5 separate regions of the Homo sapiens genome follow, and all the other regions are linked to region 1. Evidence: promoter capture Hi-C in 16 types of primary human blood cells and fetal thymus (Javierre and others, 2016). All regions are on one chromosome and are shown on one strand. Each heading gives the region's core, a stretch centred on a gene start or on the middle of the fragment in contact. The rest is flanking DNA. Distances are from core to core; before and after follow the strand shown. Region 1 holds the start of GDAP2 (ganglioside induced differentiation associated protein 2). Region 2 holds the start of BCAS2 (BCAS2 pre-mRNA processing factor). Region 3 holds the start of NRAS (NRAS proto-oncogene, GTPase). Region 4 overlaps CSDE1 (cold shock domain containing E1). Region 5 has its middle 8.4 kb from the start of CSDE1.

Evidence for each region. Contacts are between HindIII fragments. The CHiCAGO score rates a contact against its expected background, and 5 or more counts as called.
Region 2: a contact is called between the fragment with the promoter of BCAS2 here and the fragment with the promoter of GDAP2 in region 1, in 1 of 17 cell types (non-activated CD4 T cells). The highest score is 5.0, in non-activated CD4 T cells.
Region 3: a fragment that was not itself captured here is called in contact with the fragment with the promoter of GDAP2 in region 1 in 2 of 17 cell types (monocytes and fetal thymus); the score reaches 9.0 in monocytes.
Region 4: a contact is called between a fragment that was not itself captured here and the fragment with the promoter of GDAP2 in region 1, in 1 of 17 cell types (monocytes). The highest score is 9.1, in monocytes.
Region 5: a fragment that was not itself captured here is called in contact with the fragment with the promoter of GDAP2 in region 1 in 1 of 17 cell types (neutrophils); the score reaches 5.4 in neutrophils.

Annotation. Positions count from the first base shown.
Region 1 is chr1:117,927,472-117,932,711 of GRCh38, reverse strand. It overlaps GDAP2 (ganglioside induced differentiation associated protein 2), which reads left to right and starts at 3,091. Exons shown (of 14, transcript NM_017686.4): 1 at 3,091-3,264. WDR3 (WD repeat domain 3) reads right to left here and starts at 2,973. Exons shown (of 27, transcript NM_006784.3): 1 at 2,930-2,973. RefSeq lists enhancers at 2,821-2,990, 2,872-3,166. The HindIII fragment of the contact is 4,170 bases long and covers 49-4,218 here.
Region 2 is chr1:114,579,651-114,584,890 of GRCh38, reverse strand. It overlaps BCAS2 (BCAS2 pre-mRNA processing factor), which reads left to right and starts at 3,276. Exons shown (of 7, transcript NM_005872.3): 1 at 3,276-3,392; 2 at 3,500-3,592. The coding sequence starts at 3,300. It overlaps DENND2C (DENN domain containing 2C), which reads left to right. Exons shown (of 21, transcript NM_001256404.2): 21 at 1-2,041. LOC105378914 (a long non-coding RNA gene) reads right to left here and starts at 3,048. Exons shown (of 3, transcript XR_947719.4): 1 at 2,492-3,048; 2 at 2,253-2,366. The HindIII fragment of the contact is 8,807 bases long and covers 2,432-5,240 here.
Region 3 is chr1:114,711,860-114,717,099 of GRCh38, reverse strand. It overlaps NRAS (NRAS proto-oncogene, GTPase), which reads left to right and starts at 329. Exons shown (of 7, transcript NM_002524.5): 1 at 329-442; 2 at 923-1,050; 3 at 3,122-3,300. The coding sequence starts at 940. CSDE1 (cold shock domain containing E1) reads left to right here. Exons shown (of 20, transcript NM_001007553.3): 20 at 1-184. RefSeq lists enhancers at 324-523, 534-633. The HindIII fragment of the contact is 2,336 bases long and covers 1,190-3,525 here.
Region 4 is chr1:114,743,875-114,749,114 of GRCh38, reverse strand. The region is part of intron 2 of CSDE1 (cold shock domain containing E1); the gene reads left to right. Among named protein-coding and RNA genes, the nearest start is that of CSDE1, 11 kb to the left of the region's middle. The HindIII fragment of the contact is 2,940 bases long and covers 915-3,854 here.
Region 5 is chr1:114,763,805-114,769,044 of GRCh38, reverse strand. No RefSeq gene overlaps it. Among named protein-coding and RNA genes, the nearest start is that of CSDE1, 8.4 kb to the right of the region's middle. The HindIII fragment of the contact is 8,893 bases long and covers 1-5,240 here.

The DNA of each region.
Region 1 (5,240 bases), core at 1,842-4,341:
ATGCAGCTAAACTGATTTACTTCTGCCCATTAAACCAGCATCAAAGCTTTTACACAGAGATTGGCAGTCTGAGACTGAACATATTTTTCAATGAATATCTATTGAAAACCTACCAATTAGACAGGCACCATTCTAGACACTGGAAATACACTATTAACAAGGCAAAATCCCTAACCTCATGGTACTTACCTTCTTGTACAGTGGTTCTCTAACTCTAGTATACATCCAAATCACCTGGAGGGCTTATGAAAACATTGCTAGAAAACACCATCTCATCTCTTCTCCCAGCACCTGTTTCTGATTTCATAAGTCTGAGGTAGGGCCTAGAATTTTTCATTTCTAACAAGTTTCCAAGTGATGCTGCTATTGCAGTTCTTGGACCACACTTTGAGAACTACTAGTACATGAAAGTCTGTCCTTCATTTCAAAATCAGAGCAGCCACTTACCCTTGGCATAGAAAATGGTTGAGCAACTTGGCACACTATTTTTGGAAAGATGCCATAATTTCTGCACTTTTATTAAATTCACTGAAAATCCATAATCCACTGGTTATTTATAAAAGGGACAAGAGGTGAATGAAGGAGATAACAAATCAGTCCCATCTGTTCTTTACATGGAAGAGTAAAAAGTATCCCCAAAAAACACCCATGCAACTTAAAACACACAAAAATAAAGAAGTTACAGTCTTTTATGAGGAGCTGTTTCTTTTTGCTATTGTTTTTTGTTTCTTTGGTTGGTTGGCTTAACTCTACAGGGTCTTTCTAATTATCAAATGCTGTTTTAGTCTAACACAAAAAAAATTCAATCTCAACTCTCTGATAATATTTTCTGGTAATAATCACTTACTGGCCTCATTGCTTCTCTCACAGGAACCAACATAAAGCCAATTTAAAATCAAGGAAAGATAATATTAACATGGTGATAATGCTCTTAGCCTAGGCCATTTGATTAATTCTTTCCCAATTCCTCTTATTCCTCCAGACTCTGTAGTTGTTCCTTATGTTTGTCTGTCTTTGGCCATCTACCACCTCCTTCTACAGTGTTTTCCTTGGAGAATTCATATAGCATGCCTAGGTCCAGGGACTCCCATCTGTCTATTTCCAGTCCTTTCCACCTACATGAATACTAATTATAGAGTTTCCAATATTTACTGAACATCTCCACTTGAATACCTTATAGTTTCACATTTAACATGTCTATAACCAAGCCTACCTTACTTCTGGTACCCCTCTCTTTTCTTCTGACACTAAGACACAATTTTCCCAGCTCTTCAGGCTCAAAACCATTTAATAACCTTTGAATTATTAATAAAAAAATATTATTATAGCAGCCAAGATTTAGAGAGTGCTTACGCTATAGTAACTGATAACATTATGCAATTGTTTAATTACATACAGCAATTAATGAAACCGAGCTAACATATGCAAAGCACTTAGAAAAGCCTCTAGCACATTGTAAATATGAGCATAAAAAAATTATCCATAAGGACCTGGTATGGTGGCTCATGCCTGTAATGCCAGCACTTTGGGAGGCCAAGGCCTAGGAGTCAAGAGTTTCAGACCAACATAGGCAACACAGCAAGAACCTATCTCTACAAAACATTTTTTAAAAAATTAACCAGGCATGGTGACGCACTCGGGGAGGCTGAGGCAGAAAGATCACTTGAGTCCAGAAGTTCGAGGTTGCAGTGAGCTATGATCACGCCACTGCACTCCAGCCTGGGTGACAGTGAGACTCTGTCTCTAAAAATAAATAAACAAATTCTCCACAATAACACCACAAGGGAAGTCACTCTTCCTATCTCTATTTTACAGACAAGGAACTCAGACCCAGAGATGGCAAATTGCTAACTCAAAGTCATTTAGCAGCTAATTGCCAAAGCCAGATCCCAATCCAGCCAGTCTAACTCCAAAATTTCTGCTTTTAACCACTATGCTAAACTGCTTCTCTTTGCCTCTTTCTCTTTAGTCAATTCCACCTGACTGTTACTCTGAAACAGGATCCCTTTCTCTCCAGCACTTTCAGTTCCAGCTCTTTATCACTGGATTACTGCACTGATTTTCCACCTAGCACCTCCGCCTCCATGTTTTTCACTCTTTTCATTTAAACGTCATAATACTACCGACTAATCTTTTCAAATGAGCTTTCCCTATCCTAAAGCCTTGAAAAGGCTAAATCGTTTGCCAGTTTCCAAAAACTCATCCTATCTAACCCCCGTATTTCTCGAATAAACCTTCCTGTCAGGCTGGCTAGTTTCCTTCCTCGTCCCGCGACCTTGTATTCTTCATATTATTCGTTTTACTTAGAATAACATCCATGTTCTCCTCTACTTCTTTTAACTAATATTATCTTCTGAGGCCCACTTCCTTTCGAGTAAGCCCAATTCTAGCAGCCTTTTTTCATCGCCTCGATATTTAAACTACCTCCCATACAACTTGCACTGTTCACTTTGTTCCACGTGCACAGCTTTCGCCTCCTTTCTGACAGTTCACGACCAAACCTTCTTCCGAGACCCCATGATCTCCGCTTCCTAACCTACAGCCCCCAAAACGATGTTTCCAAGATGCACTGAAGGCCTGGACCGTGGCAACAGACCTGCCACACATTCCTAAACGAGTCTTCGGTCAGGGGAGGGTGACGGAGGGTTCCACACACCGAACACACGGTCATATCATCCTCAGGCCAGCCCGTGCACACGCACGGTCAGGCAGCTCTGCTCAGCACCCGCAACCGCGCCGAGTAGCTGAGGGGCTTCCAAGTACTGCTGTGGGGACGCCCGTAGTTACCTGAGTTCCCCCAGCCCTAGCAACCGGCCTTTAACACGCCCGTCTCGGCTGCTGCTGACATCACGAACGCCTCAGCCAGAATCTGCAAAATCGGAGCCGCAGATAATGCTCTCCGCCCCAACCACGCACCTCCAGGACTCACCTCAGCCTCCACGAGGCTCCCAGCCGATTGGACCCGCCCACAAGACCTGCCCCTTCCGGGTCCGTTCCGGAAGCCTCTTCCGCCAGAGGTTCCCTTTGCCTTCTAGGAGGAAATGACGGAGAAAGCCGGGCGCTGATTGGTGAGCTCTGGCCAGGAGCGGAAGCCGGTGTTTCGCAGCCCAGAGCATTTGCAGCTGGTCACTCCAGTCTCCTGGGACTTTGACTCGCCGTACTCGGCGCGCTCCTGCTGAGGGTCGCCGGAGATGTCGCTCGGCCGCCTTCTACCAGGAGCCTGATCCGTGCCGCCCGCCGCCCGGATGGGACCACCAGAGTGCTGTGAGAGGAGGGACTGAGGCCGGGAGGGAAGGCGGGGCGGAGAGGGCCGGGGGCGCGGTCCGAGGCGCTCGGGACTCGGCCCTGGTCAGGATTGCAGGCTGAGGGTTAGTTCTGTCACTTCTCTTGAAGAACGAGCCTGGCGCCACTTCCTCGCATGTTGGTTAGGTTCTTTCCCGAGGCGTTGTCGGGGACGCCGTCTCTACGAGAAGTGAAAGGGTGGGCAGTCGGCGGGCACTAGGAACAGTGGTGCTGTAGCCAAGGAGGCGGGCGCCCTAGGGTGCAGGTGAAATGGGGCAGGCGGGAGCTCTTGCTGGTTGTAGTCCCAAAGACAAGTCCGTGTTGCCGTTCCTGTGGACTGGACATTCTACGGAACCGAGAGCACCTCGGGTGAGGGGTGGGTAGACGCTGAGCCCAGGATGGTGCGTTGTCTAGGTTCCCGCAATCCCTGGAGTGACACTGGCCTGGCTTTGTGTTTCCGCTCTCTGGCCGCTTGAGGGGGAAGTGACCAAGGCTGACTCCTCCTTGTTTGCTCACTGAGACTTAAGTGCTCTTTCACCAAGTGGGAATTAGCTTTTCTCTCTTGCATTTCTGCTACTTTTATTCTTGAGCTGCATAGAAGTGTTTAGAAATGAGTTCTGATGTCTAGAGCTGTGCAAAATTAAAGCTAACATAGCTGTACAAAAGAAGATCCTGCCGGCGCTTCTTGAACAAGGTATCTGCAGCCAGCCTAGAAATTAGACTTTTGTCTACATTATCTGATTTTCTTTAGAGTTTCCTGAGCTTAATGCATGTTCAGCTAATCTTCCATATTCAAGAAAATTGCAATAGCAAAGAATGCGTATGATGAGACTGTGGACAGCTGTAGCAGCATAGGAGTTTTGAAACAAGATTGCTGTGTATTGGATAAATGAGAAGGGAAGAAATTGTGGCCACAAACTATTATTTTAATAAGCTTGGTGGGAAAGGGAGCATTTGAGTGGGTATGTATGGTTAATATCCCTGACAGGTGCTGTGCATTATATTATTATGGGGAGAAGTGTGTGCTTCAATGGAAAACTACATAGTTTAGATTCTATCTTAACACCCCTTGGAATAACTAATTCTAAAAAAGCTATTTTTCAGTTACGTAAACTAGGTAAGTGACATCAATGCTAAATAATTATTGTCAAGACATGCGAATTCTCTCAGAGATTCAGTGGAAGTTTTGCCTCCTTTTGCACATTTATTTCAATATTCCTGCTCTAAGGTGTCTAATTCTGGGATTTTCTTTATCTTCTCTGCCTGGTTCCATTTTGAGTTAAATAAAATCTTGAACACGGGTTTGGTTTTATATTTGAATGAGTCATGATTTTACCTTTTCTTAAAAAACTATCTTAATATTATTAAATATTATGGGATGGGACAACCACAGATGGAAAAAAATGATTTTAATAAGAGTTGGTATCAGAGCAACTGTGAGTGGTAAGGTAATGCATCTTACAAAATTCCTTATACAATGTTTCAAGGATGTAACTCTACTTCCTTATTTAAGTTTCAAAATGCCTAATATATCAATATTTACAATTAAAACATAGTGCAGTTCATTTAATATGAAGGGGTACTACTAATTTACTGTTAGGATATGTTCTTTGGGTGCTTTTGAATTATGATGTTAAATTTGACCCAAGCCATTGACAAGCTTAGGAATGTTCTTGTTATACTGTATTTATTGTTGACATATTTGACTACTTCAGTTAGTCTTCCAATCTGAAAATCTTTTTTAAAAAATGTCTTTCTGATGGCATAAAATGATTCTTAAGTATGGTGTTGGATGGTGGCATAAAATGATTCTTAAGTATGGTATGCACACATATCCTCATGTACTCTGAACTGTTAAATATTGAAATACAAAGTCATAAAGAATGGTAAACCCGGTAATTAATGGCGGTCAAGTGCATGCACCAGCTCTCTTTGTACTGTTGTTATCCAGGCTGGTC
Region 2 (5,240 bases), core at 2,027-4,526, 3.3 Mb after region 1:
GTGGCTCACACCTGTAATCTCCACCACTTTGGGAGGCTAAGGCAGGAGTTTGAGGGTGGGAGTTTGAGACTAGCCTGGGCAACATAGCAAGATCCCATCTCTACAAAAACATTTTAAAAATAAGTAAATAAATTTAAACTTTGTGAAATTATAGCTAATATGAAAATGTCCTTTCAAGGGCATGGGAGCCACCTTTATTTTTTAGTGTCCACCATGTGCCATGCACTGTGGTATATGTATGCATATCATCTCAACCAATCCTTAAATCAACCTTATGAGATAGATATTTGCATCTCCATTTTACTAATAAACTGAGGCTGGGTGCTATGGCTCACGTCTGTAATCCCAGCACTATGGGAGTCCAAGGCGAGTGGATCATTTGAGGTCAGGAGTTCGAGACCAGCCTGGCAACATGGTGAAACTCTGTCTCTACTAAAAATACACACAAAAAATTAGCTGGGTGTGGTGGCAGGTGCCTGTAATCCTGGCTGCTCGGGAGGCTGAGCCATGAGAATCGCTTGAGCCCAGGAGGCAGAGGTTGCAGTGAGCCGAGATCGCGCCACTGCATTCCAGCCAGGGTGACAGAGCGAGACTCCATCTCAAAAAAAAGAAAAAAGGAAAAGAAAAAAGAAAAAAACAAATTCAAAGAAGTTAAATACGTTGCCCAAAGTTGTACAACACAGAACTGAAGCCAAGACTTTTATGGACACAGAAAAAGTTGGTTAGTCCTACAGATGGAAATTTCATCTCAGTAGGATTATATAGCTATTTCTTTTATTAATAAAAATTTTCTATTAAGTGTACCAGAGCCACTTTTCAGCTCTGAGGATAAGGAACTTTATAGGTGCCTAGATGAGACTCTTTTTATTCCCCTAGAAATGTTGAAATTTTTGCTCTAATTAAATTAGACTCAAAATATGAACATTCCTTGAACATATACCACTTAGTCATCCAGACCTTTAATATCTAAAGTAGTAGTAGTAGTGATTGGAAAGAGAAAGTTTTCAGTGATGGTGCAGTGTTTTTTTTGTGTGTGTATGTGTGTGTGTGTGTGTTTTGTTTCGGTTTTTTTTTTTTTTTTTTGAGATGGAGTTTCGCTCTTTTTGCCCAGGCTGGAGTGCAATGGTGTGATCTCGGCTCACTGCAACCTCCGCCTCCCGGCTTCAAGCAATTCTCCTGCCTCAGCCTCCTGAGTAGCTGGAATTATAGGCACCCGCCACCACACCTGGCTAATTTTGTACTTTTAGTGGAGACGGGGGTTTCACCATGTTGGCCAGGCTGGTCTCGAACTCCTGACCTCAGGTGATCCACCCACCTTGGCCTCCCAAAGTGCTGGGATTACAGGCATGAGTCACTGCACCCGGCCTGTGTGTGTGTGTGTGTGTGTGTGTGTGTGTTTTCAAACTCATGGGCAAATTCAAGTTCAGATGGTGCACTTTTCATTGATTAATGTTATAGCAAATGTCAGTTTGTTTTCTTCAGTTTCTGCTGATGGTTTTAACTGGCACAGAAAGTATTTATTCAACCTTACAAAACTGTGTAAGTTGTATTGTGATACAGTTTATTGACTTGTACAGTATTGTCATTACAACCCATTCAGGTATGCATGAATCTGAAGCAGAACACCATTTAAGACTGGTGCTGTATAATATAATTCCTACAGATGTGGGTCCAGGGAATAGAACTGAGCCTGTCTTTTTTTTAATGTTAAGCAGGTTACCCCCAGTGGGGCTTCTACTAGACATCTCTCCATTTGGTCTCTTCTTACACTCCAACCCAGCAGGAACAGTTAATAATTGGATGTTTATAAAATGGGGGTAAAAGGGTTTACTGTGATGGATCCTGGCTATCCCTCTAGGAGGAGACCTTTGCTTCAGCAATGGTGTCTTCATCCTCGCAGCCTGAAGCTGCTTCATTTCCTTAGGTCTGTTGTGTTTTCTGTAAAGTGTTAGGAATTCTGGATATTTTTGTAAAAGAATCAAGATTTGTATAAAATGTTGTTTACAGATCTTTTAATGAATAAATACATAAACCCCCCACAGATCCCTTGGAGAATTCTTTAAGATCTTTTATGTCACTTAAATCTATAGCTAGCACATTTACCTAATGGTACTTCGGTAATAAGAATTAGTCTTAGACTGACCAGGCTTAATAACGGAGGTCAACATTTCCAGGCTCTTGGCAGACAAAGGCTGGGTCTAGACTGCACACTGGGCAGGGCATATAGTCTGACAACTTTATTTGGTTTTTACCTGCTTAATCAAAGGGAGGCTGCTTAGTCCAGGAGCCATGCAGAAGAGAGTGCATGGGCAGCAGCTTGAGTGGTTCGGAGGCAGTGAGGAATGCCATTCTATTACCGTTAAGTCCTAAAGGCAAAATGACAGGATTTTTAAGGAACTGAGGTTCCTTTTGATACGCAGACCATAAAGCTTCACAATTTTAATTGGAGACTGGCGCCCAATTCTAGAGTCTCTTTAAAAAATGTACTTACCCAATGCAAAGGTTTTAAGGGCACCGAGGGGGAAGGATAGTTGGGGTACAGCAAGGAAGTAAAAGAGGAATGACCCGGGGTGCAGTGGCTCACGCCTGTATTCCCCACATTTTGGGAGGCCAGGAGTTCGAGGCTAGGCTTGGCAACATAGAAAGGCTCCATCTCTACAAAAAAAATTAAAAATTAGCCAGGCATGGTGGTGTGCACCTCTAGGCCCAGCTACTCGGGAGGCTGAGGTGGAAGGATCGCTTGGGCCCGGGGGGTTGAGGCTGCAGTGAGCTATGATCACGCCACTGCACTCCAACCTGGGCAGCAGAACAAAGACCCTGTGTCTACAATAAAAAAGGAAAAAAGTCTCGCACAGAGGAAGAGAAGATTAAGGGGAGAAGGTGGGAGTAAGCAGAGGTGGGAAACCAGTTTATCTCTCCCCGCCAAATGCTGCAGCCAGTTCCCTCCAAAAGTGTTAAGGGGCTCCCTTTCCAGATATCAATGTTTTGGAGGAAACGAAAAGCCCCAACTTCAAATCGCCGCCATTCGCAGGCAAAAAAAGGGGCAGTAAGCAGAGGACAGGAAATTGAGGCCTTTCGCTGACGCAGACAAGCCAAGACGTTACGTCACGTCCGCCCAAAACAAACCAGCCCGGCAATTTCTAGATACCGGGCGGACCCGCCTTCAAAATTAGCAACTGAGCATGCACTAACGTCAATACGGAGGGAACGTGATTACATCAGTGTCAGGCGCCGGCGTAATTAAATATAACTGAGTTTACGCAGACGCAGAAAACGCAGGCAAACCTGAGGTCCTCAGAATGGCGGGCACAGGTTTGGTGGCTGGAGAGGTTGTGGTGGATGCGCTGCCGTATTTTGATCAAGGTTATGAAGCCCCTGGTGTGCGGGAAGCGGTGAGTGCGGGGTGTCTTTGTAGCTGACTCACTGCTAGCTGGCTCGGTACTGAAAGAAACATGTTACAATTTGCCACTTCTACCCTGGTCCCTATTCTCTTTCTTAGGCTGCAGCGCTGGTGGAGGAGGAAACTCGCAGATACCGACCTACTAAGAACTACCTGAGCTACCTGACAGCCCCGGATTATTCTGCCTTTGAAGTAAGTATGTCTTGAGCCTAGGTGTGAACGAGAATTCCTGTGAACCTTTATTTTGGATTGAGAGCTTTAAATTCCAGTTTTAACCATTGCCTGCATAGCTACTACTTACCTACTGTATAGGTGTCAGTCTATTGAAAACAACTAGATAGATAAGTCTTCTCCGAGGTTCTTATTCTAAGATCCATAGGAAGACTTTCTGGGGCTCCACAACTCACTTAATGCAAAAATTTGTGGCTACCATTCTTTGAGATAGGATCCATGCGTAAATTCTCAAAGGGACCCTCTCCTGCCAAGATTCACTCTACAGCAAGTGATCTAGGGTTTTTTAATATGTATAAGCCTAATTACCTAAGCTCTTTAGAACCACTGGAGAGTGGCATATTAAAGTCTAGTTATTTACCAAATGTATGTGATACGACTGAAAGGACAAACCATATCCAAGTGTATACTACTTTTTTCTCAGCCTTCTCCTTTTTTCTGTAATCTATCCGATGTTTTTATTAACACATTTCTGATTAATGTAGGCAATAATTTTCACTGATATGAATACTTTACAAGTGCTAGGTGCCATTCTAGATTCTGAGATCATAGAGATATATGGGGTTTCTTTTTTAATATATTTTGTTTTCTTTTAATTTTTCTTTTCTTTATTTAAGACAAACATCCTCTCCAAAAAAGATAGGGTTTCTGAATACAGAAAAATACAATACAGTGAGGAGCTAGATATATAAAACAAAAAGTTTACAATAGTATGTATAAATGTGTAATAATATGTAAAGGACCTATAGCGGAGGGTATGTATAAGGACAAGAGGATTAGAGAAGGGAGTGTCCATGATTGCCTAAGGAGTCAGATGCTGTTCTACTCCACACATTGAGTATGATACTATTTTAAATGTATAACCTTGAAGTACACCCAGGATTCTAGTTAGGGTCTAGTTAGCTAAATGAAATGTAAGATATCATTTCTAAATTATTGGATTCAAGTATTTCAGTATGTACAGCTTGGAGGATTTTTTCCCATTATACCTAATCGTTTATTTATGAAAGGATTGTATTATTAAAAGGCAGTATTTAGCTGGGTGTGGTGGCTCACACCTGTAATCCCAGCACTTTAGGAGGCTGAGGTGTGAGGATCACTTGAGACCAGCCTGGGCAACATAGTGAGACCCTTTCTCTACAAAAGAAAAATTAAAAAGTTAGCCAGGCATGATGGCATGCACCTGTAGCCCCAGCTACTCAGGAGGCCAAGGTGGGAGGATCACTTGAGCCTGGGAGTTCAAGACTGCTACAGTGAGCCATGATAATGCCATTGCACTCCAGCCTGGCAATAGAGTGAGACCCTGTCTCAAAGGGAAAAAAAAAAAAAAAGATATTATTTACATTAAAGTAACATGAAAAAATTGTTAGTTAAGTTTGTTGTTGTTTTTGTTTGAGACGGAGTCTCATTACGTCACCCAGGCTGGAGTGCAGTGGTGCCATCTCTGCTCACTGCAACCTCCACCTTCCGGGCTCAAGTGATTCTCCTGCCTCAGCCTCCCGAGTAGCTGGGATTGCAGGTGCCTGCCACCATGCCTGGGTAATTTTTGTATTTTCAGTAGAGACGGGATTTTACCATGTTGGCCAGGCTGGTCTTGAACTCCTGGCCT
Region 3 (5,240 bases), core at 1,108-3,607, 3.2 Mb after region 1:
AAGGGTCAGCTCAGGGGATGTGGGGGAGGGCGGTTTTATCTTCCCCCTTGTCGTTTGAGGTTTTGATCTCTGGGTAAAGAGGCCGTTTATCTTTGTAAACACGAAACATTTTTGCTTTCTCCAGTTTTCTGTTAATGGCGAAAGAATGGAAGCGAATAAAGTTTTACTGATTTTTGAGACACTAGCACCTAGCGCTTTCATTATTGAAACGTCCCGTGTGGGAGGGGCGGGTCTGGGTGCGGCCTGCCGCATGACTCGTGGTTCGGAGGCCCACGTGGCCGGGGCGGGGACTCAGGCGCCTGGGGCGCCGACTGATTACGTAGCGGGCGGGGCCGGAAGTGCCGCTCCTTGGTGGGGGCTGTTCATGGCGGTTCCGGGGTCTCCAACATTTTTCCCGGCTGTGGTCCTAAATCTGTCCAAAGCAGAGGCAGTGGAGCTTGAGGTAAGTTTATCTCATGCATAGTGTTCGGCTTTGGGCTGTGGAATGTTCAGGCGTTTCACTGATGCCAGAAATGGAGCAGAATCTATCAGCTGGAGACAAAGGCCTTGGGCGGGGGTCCTTCCATTTGGTGCCTACGTGGGGAGATCTTTGGAGACAGAAGGGAGAATGGGAAGGAGTTGCGGCCTGGAGGCTTCCTGCTAGAGCTGAGAAGCCTTCGGGGAGTAATAGGAAGGGGGATTTCCATTGCTTAGGCTGAGGGCGGGGCCCAAGGACTGTTGAAAAATAGCTAAGGATGGGGGTTGCTAGAAAACTACTCCAGAAGTGTGAGGCCGATATTAATCCGGTGTTTTTGCGTTCTCTAGTCACTTTAAGAACCAAATGGAAGGTCACACTAGGGTTTTCATTTCCATTGATTATAGAAAGCTTTAAAGTACTGTAGATGTGGCTCGCCAATTAACCCTGATTACTGGTTTCCAACAGGTTCTTGCTGGTGTGAAATGACTGAGTACAAACTGGTGGTGGTTGGAGCAGGTGGTGTTGGGAAAAGCGCACTGACAATCCAGCTAATCCAGAACCACTTTGTAGATGAATATGATCCCACCATAGAGGTGAGGCCCAGTGGTAGCCCGCTGACCTGATCCTGTCTCTCACTTGTCGGATCATCTTTACCCATATTCTGTATTAAAGGAATAAGAGGAGAGAAAGTAAAAAGTTATTTTGGGTATACATTCAGTTATGCAATAAGCTTAACGTGTTTATAGAGAACAGTTCATTTTTATTAGCTGCTGAAGTTTCTAAAACCTGTCCAGTTTTTAACAGTTCTGTAAACTATTGCAAACTCAGTGTTGAGTTCATTCATGAGTTTCTTCATATATAACAGCTCTATTACATGAGAAACACAGGCCATAGTAGCGAGACTGTCTGATTGTATGGGAGATAATAGGATGGAGATAAAGGATTCAGAGATGAGTGTTCTTCAATATTTATTTATTAGCTAGTTGAAGCAGCTGAGACCAGATGATTGGAGTAGCAAGAACTTGAGATTTTTAGTCTTTATGCCTAGGATTTTGGTCCCTGTTTGCAGTTTATTTAGTTGTGTGATATTGAGCAACTGAATCTCTCCCAACCTCATTTTCCTCATGTTTTAAATTACCATAAACTTGTCCTGCCTACCACACAGGGATGTTATGGAAAGTTAAATAATATATTTAAGTTATTTATGAATGGTAAAGCACTATGTAATAGTACTTAGGGATTCTATTGTTATTATGAGAGTTCATGGTACAGATTGTCTTCAGTAAGTGGCACCTAAGGCTCTTTAAATAAAGGGTTTTGCCGGACACGGTGGCTCACGCCTGTAATCCCAGCACTTTGGGAGGCTGAGGCAGGCGGATCACAAGGTCAGGAGTTCAAGACCAGCCTGATCAACATGGTGAAACCCCGTCTCTACTAAAAATACAAAAATTAGCTGGGTGTGGTGGCAGGCACCTGTAATCCCAGCTACTCAGGAGGCTGAGGCAGGAGAATCGCTTGAACCAGAGGCAGAGGGTGCAGTGAGCCGAGATCACACCACAGACCTCCAGCCTGGGCAACAGAGCGAGACTTCGTCTCAAAAAATAAATAAATAGATAAATAAATAAAGGGTTTTGTAATTTTGTTCAGTTTAGAAATGCCTAACTTTAGAGATTATTTTAATCAACACCTGGCCTCCCTACCATCTGGCTACTCGTGTTTAATTGATGAAAACTAACTCTAATGTAGCCACTATAAAAAATTGGTTGCTAACCCTTGGCAAAATCTTTATTTTGAGCTTAACAGCTTTAATATTTTACATGAAATGTTTAATATTTTAATTAAATATTTTTAAATGTTTGATTTATTGAGCAATTTACATAAGTAAAATACATAAATTTTATGTCTACAGCCCAGTGCTTTTTGCGTTTCTATATAGTCATGTAGCTACCACCCAGATAACAGTATAGAGCACTTCCAGTACTCCAGAGAGTTCTCCAAGTGTGATGACATTAAAATACAAGTAAAAGTCCTGTTGCCATAAAACCAAAATGAAAGTATTTTTTATATGATCTATGCATGTTTGTCTTCCTGAGAAATTAAACATAACTATACCTTGTTTGGAACCTTTAAGAATTTGATTCAGGAATATTTCCCAAAGGTACATCTGTCATGATAAAAAAAAAACCTTCTCTGAAACAAAGGTATTTGTATATTTAGTCATAAACACAAATGATGTATATAGGGCCAGGTTATAATTGGTGGAGGTATGTTTAGATTTCTTTAAGTAAAATAAACAGCACAAATAAAACAGTCCAGTTCATAGCTTAGTGAAATACACTGGGTACTTAATCTGTAGCCTCCTGGCTGCAGTAGAGTTGTCATTTGAGTTACTGTGTTTTCTTAATCTTTTCCAGGAACACAGTGACCATATTTCTTTTCTGCAGGCATATAGAATTTGGTGGGTTTTCTTTTATGTAGGGTGATATTGGATACTTTTTGTTTGTGATTATATATTAGCAATTTGAGGGACAAACCAGATAGGCAGAAATGGGCTTGAATAGTTAGATGCTTATTTAACCTTGGCAATAGCATTGCATTCCCTGTGGTTTTTAATAAAAATTGAACTTCCCTCCCTCCCTGCCCCCTTACCCTCCACACCCCCAGGATTCTTACAGAAAACAAGTGGTTATAGATGGTGAAACCTGTTTGTTGGACATACTGGATACAGCTGGACAAGAAGAGTACAGTGCCATGAGAGACCAATACATGAGGACAGGCGAAGGCTTCCTCTGTGTATTTGCCATCAATAATAGCAAGTCATTTGCGGATATTAACCTCTACAGGTACTAGGAGCATTATTTTCTCTGAAAGGATGATCTTTGTGTTCTGAATCTTTATGGGGAAATGAGGTTACCACACTAGGGAAGATAGAGCTTTTTAATTATGGGAAGAGTTGGTTTTAGGTTGTTTGACATTGAGAATCTAGGGTAATTACTGAAAGTTAATACTGGAATTTATTTTACATAATATACTGTTACTATAAAGTTTGATAATACATAAGTGAAGCTTGCTACTGGGAATGACTTGGAACCAGAGTTGTTGTAATTAGAGATCACGAAGGAATTTCAGAGAGGAAAACATCTCCAAGAAACATCTTTCAGTATGTAATGGAAAAGATAGGCCAGGCACAGTGGCTCACACCTGGAATGTCAGTGCTTTGGGAGGCCAAGGCGGGAGGATCACTTTCAGCCCAGGAGTTGGAGACCAGCCTGGGCAACAGAGCAAGACCCTGTCTCTACAAAAATAAAAATAAAAAAATTAGTCACACATGGTGGCAGCTACTCGGGAGGCAGAGGTGGGAGGATCACGTGAGCTCAGGAGGTCGAGGCATGCTCACTCCACTGCACTGCTGCACTCCAGCCTAATCAACAGAGCAAGATTCTGTCTCCAAAAAAAATAAAAAATAAAATGATAGGAGTAAGCAAATAGGAAGTCCATAAAGATGAAAACAAAGCAAGGGAACATAAAGATAGACTTTGTCCATAGAACCATAAAGTTTCAAAGCTAGATTGGACCATAAAAATTCTAGTACAATATTCTTATTTTGCAGAATCAGAAACAGAGTTCAGAATGTCGTTTGTTAGGTTTTGGAGTCAGGATTGTTATTAGTAGCAGAGCCAGGACCAAAAACCCAAAGCTCCTTTTTCTTAGCACAGTGTTCTTAAACAGAATAATATAATGGTTAAGAATGAGAACTCTGCCTGGATTGAAACCTAGCTCTGTTTATTAGCGACGTGACTCAGGGGCTATGTGGCTTTCCTAACCTATAATATGGAAATAATAATACCTACCTCATAGAGTTGTGAAGATTACAGTTTTAATAAATACGCAAATCACTCAGAATAGTGCCTGGCACACAGTAAATGCTACTTAAGTGTTCTGCCTAAAGGCTTGAGTCTTGGCTTATTTTCTATCCATGTGAAGATGTCTGCTCTCAAAAGCAGATTGGTCCAACACTGAATTCAAGTGTTCTTTTCCTAACCTGTTGTACTTCCCATTTTTTTTTTGTCTAAAAGTAATAGCAGTACTTAATAAAATGCCCACACTTGGCATGCATCTAATAAATGTTTTTTGAATTTCTAGAAGTCATTTTTCTTCTTTCTTACAAGAAATTTATTCATTTTTCTATATGCCTTAGCTCAAACCAAAGAGTATTTAAAACATCTTATGAAAATGCATATAGTAGAGCAAGATAAGATTAATGAAAAATAGGCTTAAGTGAGACCAAAAAAATAAGGGTAAAATAAACAAATTTAGGAGTGAGCATATTCTGTGATTGTGCATGAAGTTCCAGTGGCTTTCTAAAGGTGGACTACAAATTTGGTCACTGTTGTGAAAAGGAAAGTAGCCAGCTGAAAGATTCAGTATCTGTATGCTGAAAGCCGTTAAGTTGCTCGGACTAGAAGGAAATTTTCCCATGGATCCTCAAAGAGGCTTGTTTAATGTAAAAATCAGTAGTAACCTGACAGTGACATGGTCCAGGTACTTTAGGCTGTCTTATCCCTTAATGTAGGCTATTACCATCAAGCACAGTTTTGCAAATAGCCAGTGGAATGTAGTTCAGATACATGACTTTGTGGGTAATCCAGGGGTAGAGACTAAAACAGTACTGTGCAGTATGTGGTTATTTACAGTTAATTAAGATTAAATAAAATTTAAAAATTAGTTCCTTGACTACCAAATGCTCAATAGCCACTAGTAGGTACCATGTTGAACAGTACAG
Region 4 (5,240 bases), core at 1,135-3,634, 3.2 Mb after region 1:
AGAAGAGACATTGGTAGAGGTATAGAGGTAACAGAATTAGCAGATTCAGGGCTACGTGAAAGCACATGGTATATATTAAGTTGTTCATTATGAACAGAGTAGAGAATATAATTTTGCGGGAGAGTTATGAAAGGGAAGTTTGCTGGAGGCTTGGCCCAATGCATTTGTCTTTATTCCGTAGGAGAGCCATCAGATGTCTATAAGCAAGGGCTTAAGGGTTTTTCCCCCAAAAGTAAGATAGCTTTATTGCTTCACATTTTAAAGTAATATTCAGAAGTGTACCTTTAAAAGACAAATGGTGACACTTTTGAGGGAAAGGCTGAGGATGGGAAGACCTGTCAAAAGCAGTGGATCAAGTATAAGGAAGATAAAAGCTAAGGTGTAGGTAGAGAAAAAGGTAGGTGCTAGGTGTTCTGATGATTTAGAAGTGAGGACTTGGGGACCAATTGAATCTGAAGATAAATGTGGAGAGAATGGCTTTATCAAATCCAGTTGTGCAAACTAGAAACCTTCATTGTTCATAGGAATAGGGAAGTTAGAGTAGTAACTTACTGATATTAAAATATGTTATGGAAATCTATTGTGTTCATTAGATAGCAATCTGAAGTTGAAGGAAATACACTAGTATGGAATATTGAACAGTGGTTAACTTTGAGGGTAGGCTTATGAAGAGCAATTTTCCTTTTTAATCTTTAGTTTCCAGATTTTCTAAAGTTAGACATAAAGGAATTCAGAAAGGAGTCATCAGTGTATAGGTAATAAAAGGAAGAAGCACCAATGAAGAGAGCAAAGACATAGAAGTCAGGAAAAAGCACCAACGATAATTTCAGGAAGTCAATGGTAAACATTTTTTTAGATGCTACAGAGGTCAAATAAAATGAAGAATGAAAATAAGTCATTCAGTTACAAAAGCTTCACTGCTATTTCAAGAAGCGCTTAGGACTTTATTTCCAATTTATTGAAGGATTATGTAATAGTGTCAGTGACCTTGCTGTGCACTAGAATTATTCCTTAACAACTAAAAACTATAGTAAAATTATCTATGTCTCATAAACAGACACTGTTATTTAATTTTAAGGTAATTGTAGCATTTAGTTTTTCTATTTGTTTCTTCTTACCTTAGCTGATTTTTAAAAAATAATTTTAGACTAATTGTTGTGGATTCTGTTGGATTAGATAGGGAAGATTAACACAAATTGAAACCACAATTTTATGTTCTGAAGCATAAAAGATTAGATTTTTTTTTTTTTCCTCTCTGAGACAGAGTCTTGCTCTGTCGCCAAGGCTGGAGTGCAGTGGGGTGATCTTGGCTCACTGCAGCCTCTGCCTCCCAGGTTCAGGTGATTCTTCTGCCTCAGTCTCCTGAGTAGCTGAAATTACAGGCGCGCATCACCATGCCTGGCTTATTTTTGTATTTTTAGTAGAGACGGGGTTTCACCGTGTTGGCCAGTCTGGTTTTGAATTCCTGACCTTGTGATCCACCCGCCTCGGCCTCCCAAAGTGCTGGGATTACAGGCATGAGCCACCGTGCCTGGCAAGATTAGATATTAAGGCTTTCATTTCATTGACATGATTTATAGAAATAGATTTAACGAAGTCCTTTTTGTTTAGTGTAATCTTTGTATTCTGAATATTAGTTTACTACATGAACATTTTAATATATAAATGCATCCATAGCTGTCTAAAAATTACATGTTTACATATGTACAAAGAAACCACAATTGGGATGAAGATTATTGGCAGTAAAACATGGCTGTGGTTGTACAGTTGTGAAATAGTTCAGTTAAAGGGGGCACACAGCTAAGAAAACAGATTTGGTAATGCAATGGAACCCCCAGATTTTAAAGGGGGGTTTTGTAAAATCAGTAAAAATAGTACGTAATTAGGAACAAATATATATAGAAGGGTAGAATTAGCCATAAAATGGCAAGAAAGAATAAGGCTTATAAAGCATTTGTTTGAGATGTGAAAATAGACCTGAATTGTTTGGTGAATGATTTGATCCAGGTTAGTCTAAAGGTGACAGACAAGAGAAAAGCAAAACTAGAAAATTCCTGTCGCGCTCCTAGTTTTTTCTGCTGAATGCAATAATTTTCATACTTGAAACATAGCAAAGCAAGAGAAAACTGAGGCCCCAGATGAGTGAGAAAATAACAGGATTACTTGGCGGTTGCTAGGGTGCTAGTTGCTAGGTGTGTGATAGTAGTCAAATAGAGACCTATGACAGGAACTGTAAATGTCCTGATTTTTCAGTCAGATGTGGGAACTATTGAGCTTACTTTTCATCCCTAGCAAAAACCCCAGAGCCAGTGAATAAATAACTTGGCAGACTAGCTCATGATAGCATAATGGTCAATATGGAGAAATGTTGGATGGATAGCAGTTAGTAAGAGACTGATTTTAGAGAAGTCTCCAGGTGTATGCTGCCAGATGCTATCCTCGCCCTGCTTTTTTCAGAGACCTAATGAGTAGTTCTGTGAGTACCTATGTGCTACGTAAGCACTTATTTTAGGCTTTTTACGTGCAGCAACTCATTTAACCATCTCAACAACTCTGTGAGACAGGTGTTAAGGTAGGAGAATGAATGATTAAAAGATAAACTACAAAGAGTCTGATAATTTAAAATTAGTCACCAAATTGGAATACTAGATTAACCAACAGAAGGCATTTTAAAAGCATTAGGTTATAGTTTTTTTATTTGGGAACAAACGATCCATTACGGAGGAACTGAAAGAAAACCTGATTTCGCTAATGTGATTTGTGAAGAAATGATGGGGATGTGTTTTAGTTTTACAAAGTTATAAAACTTCAGTCTACAGAATCAAGGAGTGTAATCACTCAGTACTTTATATTGGTCGGGTACATTAAGAATAGTAGTGAAATGCACTTTAATGAATAATTACTTAGAACCTATCCAGAAGACAGCAATTAGTGTTAAAAATGGTTGTGTTCAGAAAATTGGAAGAAACAGTGGAAGTCAAGGGGAGGTATGTCTGAGAATACAGAGTAGTTTTCTAAAGATCTTATGGTGAAATAGGCTACCTTTTCCAAATTGATTGTCAATCAGTAGAAGCCAAGCAGACCAGATTAGGGGGGAAAAACAACTTAGATGTTGTAATAAATTACAAAGCATAGATTTCCACCCCCTCTCCCCAAAGGAACTTGGAAACCAGTTAGGTGCTCCCACTTTACTTTTGAGGAAAAAATCCCAGAGATGTTAAAAGTACTTGAGAGTCAGGACTGAAAGCCAGTCTTTTGACTTTTATGTTCTTCAGGGAACTTTAATCAATTTCTTGAGTTACAAATGAAGTTTAAATTTGACCTGAGATTTGTTCCATTTCTGCTTTTATTAAAGGAGGACTAATTTTGTCAATGACTTTTTCAGTTTAAAAGTAAATATGTAGAAAAGGGTAGAAGGTCTAAACTTTATGAGGCTGGAGATATTTGTCTGTTGTGTTACCTACTATATGAGTAGAACCTAAAATAATGCTGATGCATTGTATGAACTTAATTGTGGTTGAATGAATAAGGCAGTGGTTAAGAATGGAGTCAGAACTGGATTCTGTTCCCACATTTGCCATTTTTAGCGCTGTGCCCTTAAGATGGCTAAGTGTTTTCTCATCTGTGAACATTAGATTTTCTGGTCTTTAAATACATTTGAAATCATACTGTATAAATATCTTATGTCTCATTTCCTATTACAGAATAAGCATTTTCCACATATTGTTTCCAATGACCACATAGCATTACATAAGTTACAATGACGTCTTGAGCTATAAAGTGTGTTAGACTTTATATTATTTCCAGGAATTTGCTACAAAAATATATTTGTTAAAATACTTGTGTATAAAGCTTTTTTCACATTTCAGATTTCCCCAGGAGAGCTTTTCTGCAATGCAGTTATTAAGAAAAATATCTCCACATTTTGATACATGTTGCTAAATTGCATTTCTAAAAGGTTGTACCAATTTACTACCATAAAAGTGGTGTGTGTGTTGTTCTTAGCTCACTTTTTCATTATTTTAAAATCTTACGTCTTTGCTAGTTTGGTATATGAAAGTATTAATTTGCTTTATCTGGATTTTTTATTGCAAAAATTCAAGTTTTTTTTTAATGTTTAATGTTTTAGCTTTTGTGTATAAAGTTTAATAATTGATATTCAAGAATGATTTATTTGCTCACTTAATCAGTAATTCAACATATGAGTGCCTGCTCTGTGCCAGGCACTGTTTATCTAAAATCTAGGGATTTAGCTTTGAATTGAAAGTTCTGCCCCTCAAGAAGCTTATATTCTGGTAATTTAATTGTACTGATTTGCCCTATCTACTCTGGTGTATTTACACTTTTCCCCCAGGTTTGAGTATAAAAGCTTGTGCTTTTTGTATAATCAGATATCAGTCCCTTGTGATTTTTTTTTAATTGATTTCAAATCTAGAAAGTTCCGCCCTTGCAAAGATTTTACAAATATACTCATCCATGGGGGTGTGTGTGTATGTTTTGGGGTTTTTGTTTGTTTGTTTTTGTTGTTTTGTTTTTGTTTTTGTTTTGAGACAGGGTCTCACTCTGTCACCCAGGCTGGAGTACGGTGTCAGGATCATGGCTTGACCTCCCAGGCTCTGGTGAACCTCCCACCCCAGCCTCTTGAGTAGCTGGAACTATAGGCATCCAGCTAATTTTGGCTAATTTTTGTATTTTTTTGTAGAGACAGGGTTTTGCCATGTGCCTAGGCTGGTCTCAAATTCCTGGGCTCAGGTGATCTGCCACCTCGGCCTCTCAAAGTGCTAGGATTACAAACGTGAACCACTGAGCCTGGCTGGTTTTTAAATATTTTTTAAGACATTAAACTCGGTTCATTTGAATACATTTTTACATGCTGTTAGGCAAGCAACTAAATTGTGGATTTTTTTCCCCCCTATTTAAAGAAGAAGTCAAGTAACATTTACCTACTGGGTCCTTCCTACCACCACCTTTGTTAGCATCTTTAATTTTTTATAAACAAGGTTCTGTTAAATTATCTACTTCCATTTGTCCTATACTTTCATGTAATTGTTTTTGTGATAACTTCCATTTTGCTTGTTTTTTGATGGTGCTGATTAAGAAATATTTGCAATGCCATTAAAATATAGTTTAGCCAAATTATTAGGAATTCTTTGAAAAGTATTAACATGTCACATGTCACATCAACTTATCTAAAGTTGTTTGAGTGGTGTGTTTCCCTTTGGAAAAATAAAATAAAGGCT
Region 5 (5,240 bases), core at 1,256-3,755, 3.2 Mb after region 1:
TGCACTTATGGTGGATGACTGGACAAAGGCAATCTGAATATTTCAGTCAAACTCAGGACCATGTGAAAAAAGAACATGGGTTTTGGCCATTTTCTGTTCTTTCCATTGACACCTTTTTATCAAGAGTGTGCCACCACACAAATTTGGAGTATGGCTGGCTGTATTAGTTTTCTACTGCTATATAACAAATTACCACAAATAACAGTTTAGAGCAACATCCACGTATTATCTCACAGTTCTGTAGGTCTGAAGTCCATGCAGGGCTCAAATGGGTTCTCCTCTCTTGCACTCACAAGGCTAAAATCAAGGTGTCAGCTGAAGCCAGCATCCCGTATGAGGCTCCAGTCTCTCTCCCACGTTCACGTAATTATTGACAAAATCCATTTCAGTACAGCTCTACAACTAGAAGACTCTCTTCAAGGGCAACAGGAAATATCTCTGACTTCTTGTCTCCCACCTCTAGACTCCTTTTTTTTTTTTTTTTTTGAGACGGAGTTTCGCTCCCGTTGTCCTGTTGCCCAGGCTGGAGTGCAATGGCGTGATCTCAGTTCACTGCAACCTCCACCTCCCGGGTTCAAGCAATTCTCCTGCCTTAGCCTCCCGAGTAGCTGGGATTACAGGCATGTGCCACCATGCCCGGCAAATAGACTCCCTTTTAAGAATACACCTAAGTCAGGTCCAACCAGAATATCTCCCTCTTGATTAACCCAACTGATTAGAGATCTTAATTATATCTGCAGTAATCCCTTTGCCATAAAAGAGATATAAGTGATACAGCTTCTCGTATCCACGTTTCACCTATGCTTAAGATGGGATGATACAAGACACGTACGACACCAGTGGGAATCTTGGTGGCCAGCTTGGAATTCTACCTACTCCAGTGGCTTTTAGCAGCTCAGAATAAAATCCTGGAAACCATGAAGCACTCTTTGAGGAAATGCTACATTATCAGTGTTCTTGGTGGGCTCAAAATAATTCTATGTGGGAAAACCTGGATATCTATGAACCAGAAAGATTCAGCAAGATGCACCAATGAATAGTGGGCTAAAATTTAAGCAAAAACAGGATATTTATATACGTTTGCGTTAGTTCCTAGAGTTGCCATTACAAATGAACTCAAACTGGGTGGCTTAAAACAAATTTATTCTTTCGTAGTCCTGGAGACTAGAAGTCTCAGGGAGAATGTGTTCCATGCCCCTCTCCTAGCTTCTGGGGTTGCTGGCAATTCCTGTTCCCTGATTTCTAGATGTATCACTTCAATCTCTTGTCTTCATATGGCATTCTCCCTGCATGTCTCTAGTCAGTGTATAAAATTCTCTCTTCTAAGGACGCTACTCATTGGATTCAGGCCCACTCTAATCCAGTATGACTTTATCTTAACTTGATTACCTCCACAAAGGCCCTATTTCTAAATAAGGTCATATTCTAAGGTTCTGGGTGGGAATGAATTTAGGGGGGACACTATTCAATTCAGTACATTACCAAAGCATTGCCCTGCCCCCAAATACTCACTAATTACAAAGGGAAAAGTAGTAATTTTACAATGGAGAATCCTGGCAGACATCAACTGATTAAGGTAAACATCATTAATAATACACTTCAATGGCTGGACAAGGTGGCTCACACCTGTAATCCCAGCACTTCGGGAGGCCGAGGTGGGTGGATCACCTGAGGTCAGGAGTTCAAGACCAGCCTGGTCAACATGGTGAAACCCCGTCTCTACTAAAAATGGAAAAATTAGCCGGGCGTGGTGGTGGGCGCCTATAATCCCAGCTACTTGGGAAGCTGAGGTGGGAAGATTGCTTGAACCCAGGAGGTGGATGCTGCAGTGAGTCGAGATCATGCCACTGTACTCCAACCTGAGCGACAAGCGTGACCTCATCTCAATAATAATAATTGTAATAATACACTTCAACATTATATACCCCTGATATTGAGCAATGATAGGCACATAACCTCTGTAGTGTTCCAAATAATGTATAACCTCAATCTAATCAAGAGAAAACATCAGACAAAACCAAATTGAGGGAAATCTGCAAAATAGCTGACTGATACTGTTTTAAAGTATATATATAGAGAGAGAGAGAGAGTCAGTGTCTCACTCTGTTGCCCAGGCTCACTGCAACCTCTACCTCCTGAGTTCACTCCGCTCAATGCAACCTCTACCTCCTGAGTTCAAGCAATTCTAGAGCCTCAGCCTCCAGAGTAGCTGAGATTGCAGGGGCCTGCCACCACGCCCAGCTAATTTTTGTATTTTTACTAGAGACGGGGTTTCACCATGTTGGCCAGGCTGGTCTCAAACTCCTGACATCAAGTGATCCGCCCGCCTCGGCCTCCCAAAGTGCTGGGATTACAGCCATGATCCGTCACACCCAGCCTGTTTCAGTGTTAAAGTTGTAAAAGACAAAGACTAAAGAACTGTCATAGAAGGGAGACAAAGGAGACATAAAAACTAAATGCAGTGTGGGATCCTAGATTTGATCCTGGAGGAGAAAATGGACATTGTTGGAATAACTGGTGCAGCCCAAATTAATTTTGTATTTCAAGTCATATTATCATGTCAAAGTTGATTTCCTAGTTTTGAAAATTGTTCTATAGTTATGTAAGGTTAAAATAGGAGAAGCAAGTACAGAGTTTATGGAAACTTTCTGTACTATTTTTCTACCTCTTCTGTAAGTGTAAAAATCTAAAAAAAAAAAGTTCATCCCCCTGATTTCTAATGAGGCTGGGTATAATTTCAAGTATTTGCCTATACAGGTTTTAAAAAAAATATGGACCTTCAAGTATTTTCTCCATTTTCCTTTTCTTTCCTTTTGGCTTTTTCTTATTAATGTATTATATATTCATGATACCAATACATTTTTTATATAATGCAAATATACTAGTCTGTTGATTTTTTAAACTTTTTTATGTTGCCTCATGATGAATGGAATTTTTAAAATATGGTCAAATTTATTACTGAAAAGAAAGAGATTCAGAAGAGTTAGACTTTGTGAAGAAGTTTTAGGAATACCTTAACAAATTTATTTTGCCATTTTTTTTTTTTTTTACTTCATATACACACAAAAGGGAGACATGATTTAAATCTATGTCTAGGCAGGGCACAGGTGGCTCATTCCTGTAATCCCAGTACTTTGGAAGGCTGAGGCAGGAGGACTGCTTGAGCCCAAGAGTTCAAGACCAGCCTGGGCATCGCAAAACCCCATTTCTACAAAAAAATACAAAAATTAGCCAGGCGTGGTGGTGCATGCCTATAGTCCCAGCTACTCAGGTGGCTGAGGCAGGAGGATTGCTTGAGCCTGGGAGATGGAGGCTGCAGTGAGCTGAGATCATGCCACTGCAATCCACCCTGGACAACAGACTGAGACCCTGTCTCCAAAAAAAAAAAAAGTTTAAAATAGCCCTTTCAATAAATATAAAAATTCTAAGTAGTGAAAGTTTTATTTCATAATTGTATTAGTCAGTTCTCGTGCTGCTATAAGGACATACCCGAGACTGGGTAATTTATAAAGAAAAGAAGTTTAATTGACTTTCAGTTCTGAAAGGCTGGGGAGGCCTCAGGAAACTTACAATCATTGCAGAAGGGGAAACAAACACGTCCTTCACATGGTAGCAAGGAGAATGAGTGCTGACAAAAGGGGGAAAAGCCCCTTATAAAACCATCAGATAGGCTGGGAGTGGTGGCTCATGCCTGTAATCTCAGCACTTTGGGAGGACGAGGTGGGTGGATCACTTGAGGGCAGGAGTTCAAAACCAGCCTGATCAACATGGTGAAAGCCCATCTCTAGTAAAAAAAAAAAAAAAAAAAAAAAAAAAAAAAAAAAAAAACTCAAAATTAGCTGGGCGTGGTGGTACACACCTGTAATCCCAGCTATTTGGGAGGCTGAGGCAGGAGAATTGCTTGAACCCAGGAGGCCGAAGTTGCAGTGAGCTGAGATCGTGCCATTGCACTCCAGCCTGGGCAACAAGAGCAGAACTCCGTCTCAAAAATAAATAAATAAATAAATACAAATAAAACCATTAGATATTGTGAGAACTCACTCACTATCATGAGAACAGTGGCACAGGGGTAACAGCCCCCATGATTCAATTACCTCCCATCAGGTTCCTCCCACGACATGTGGACATTATGGGAACTACAATTCCAAATGAGATTTGGGTGAGGACACAGCCAAACCACATCACTCCGCCTATGACCCCTCCCGAATCTCATATCCTCATATTTCAAAACATGATCTTGCCTTTCCAACAGTCCTCCAAAGTCTTAGCTCATTCCAGCATTAACCCAAAAGTCCAAGTCCAAAGTCTCATCTGAGACAAGGCAAGACCCTTCCCTTATGAGCCTATAAAATCAAAAGCAAGTTAGTTACTTCCTAGATACAATGGCGGTACAGGCACTGGGTAAATATACCCTTTCCAAATGGGAGAAATTGGCCAAAACGAAGGGGCAATAGTCCCCATGCAAGCCTAAAATCCATTACACCAATCATCAAACCTTAAAGTTCCAAAATGATTTCCTTCGTCTGACTTGATGTCTCATATCTAGGTCACATTGATGCAAGAGGTGGGCTCCCACAACCTTGGGCAGCTCCACCCCTGTGGCTTTGCAGGGTACAGCCCCCCTCCCAGCTGCTTTCACAGCTGGCGTTAGGTGTCTGCAGCTTATCCAGGCATACGGTGCAAGCTGTCAGTGGATCTACCATTCTGGGGTTTGGAGGATGATGGCCCTCTTCTCACAGCTCCATTAGGCAGTGTCCAGTGGGGACTCTGTGTGGGGGCTCCAACCCCACATTTCCCTTCTTCACTCCCCTAGCAGAGGTTCCCCATGAGGGCTCCACCTCTACAGCCAACTAATGCCTGGACATCAAGGCATTTCCGTACATCCTCTGAAATCAAGGCGGAGGTCCCCAAACCTCAATCCTTGACTTCTGCACACTCACAGGCCCAACACCATGTGTCAGCTGCCAAGGCTTGGGGCTTGCACCCTCTGAAATAATGGCCTGAGCTGTACCTTGGCCCCTTTTAGCCACAGCTGGAGTTGAAGTAGCTGGGACTTAGGACACCGTGTCCCAAGGCTGCACATATCCCAAGGCTGCACAGAGCAGGGGGTCTTGGGCCTGGCTCAGGAAACTATTTTTCCTTCCTTGGCCTCCAGGCCTGTGATGGAAGGGGCTGCCATGAAGGTCTCTGACATGCCCTGGAGACATTTTCCCCATTGTCTGGATGATTAGCATTTGTCT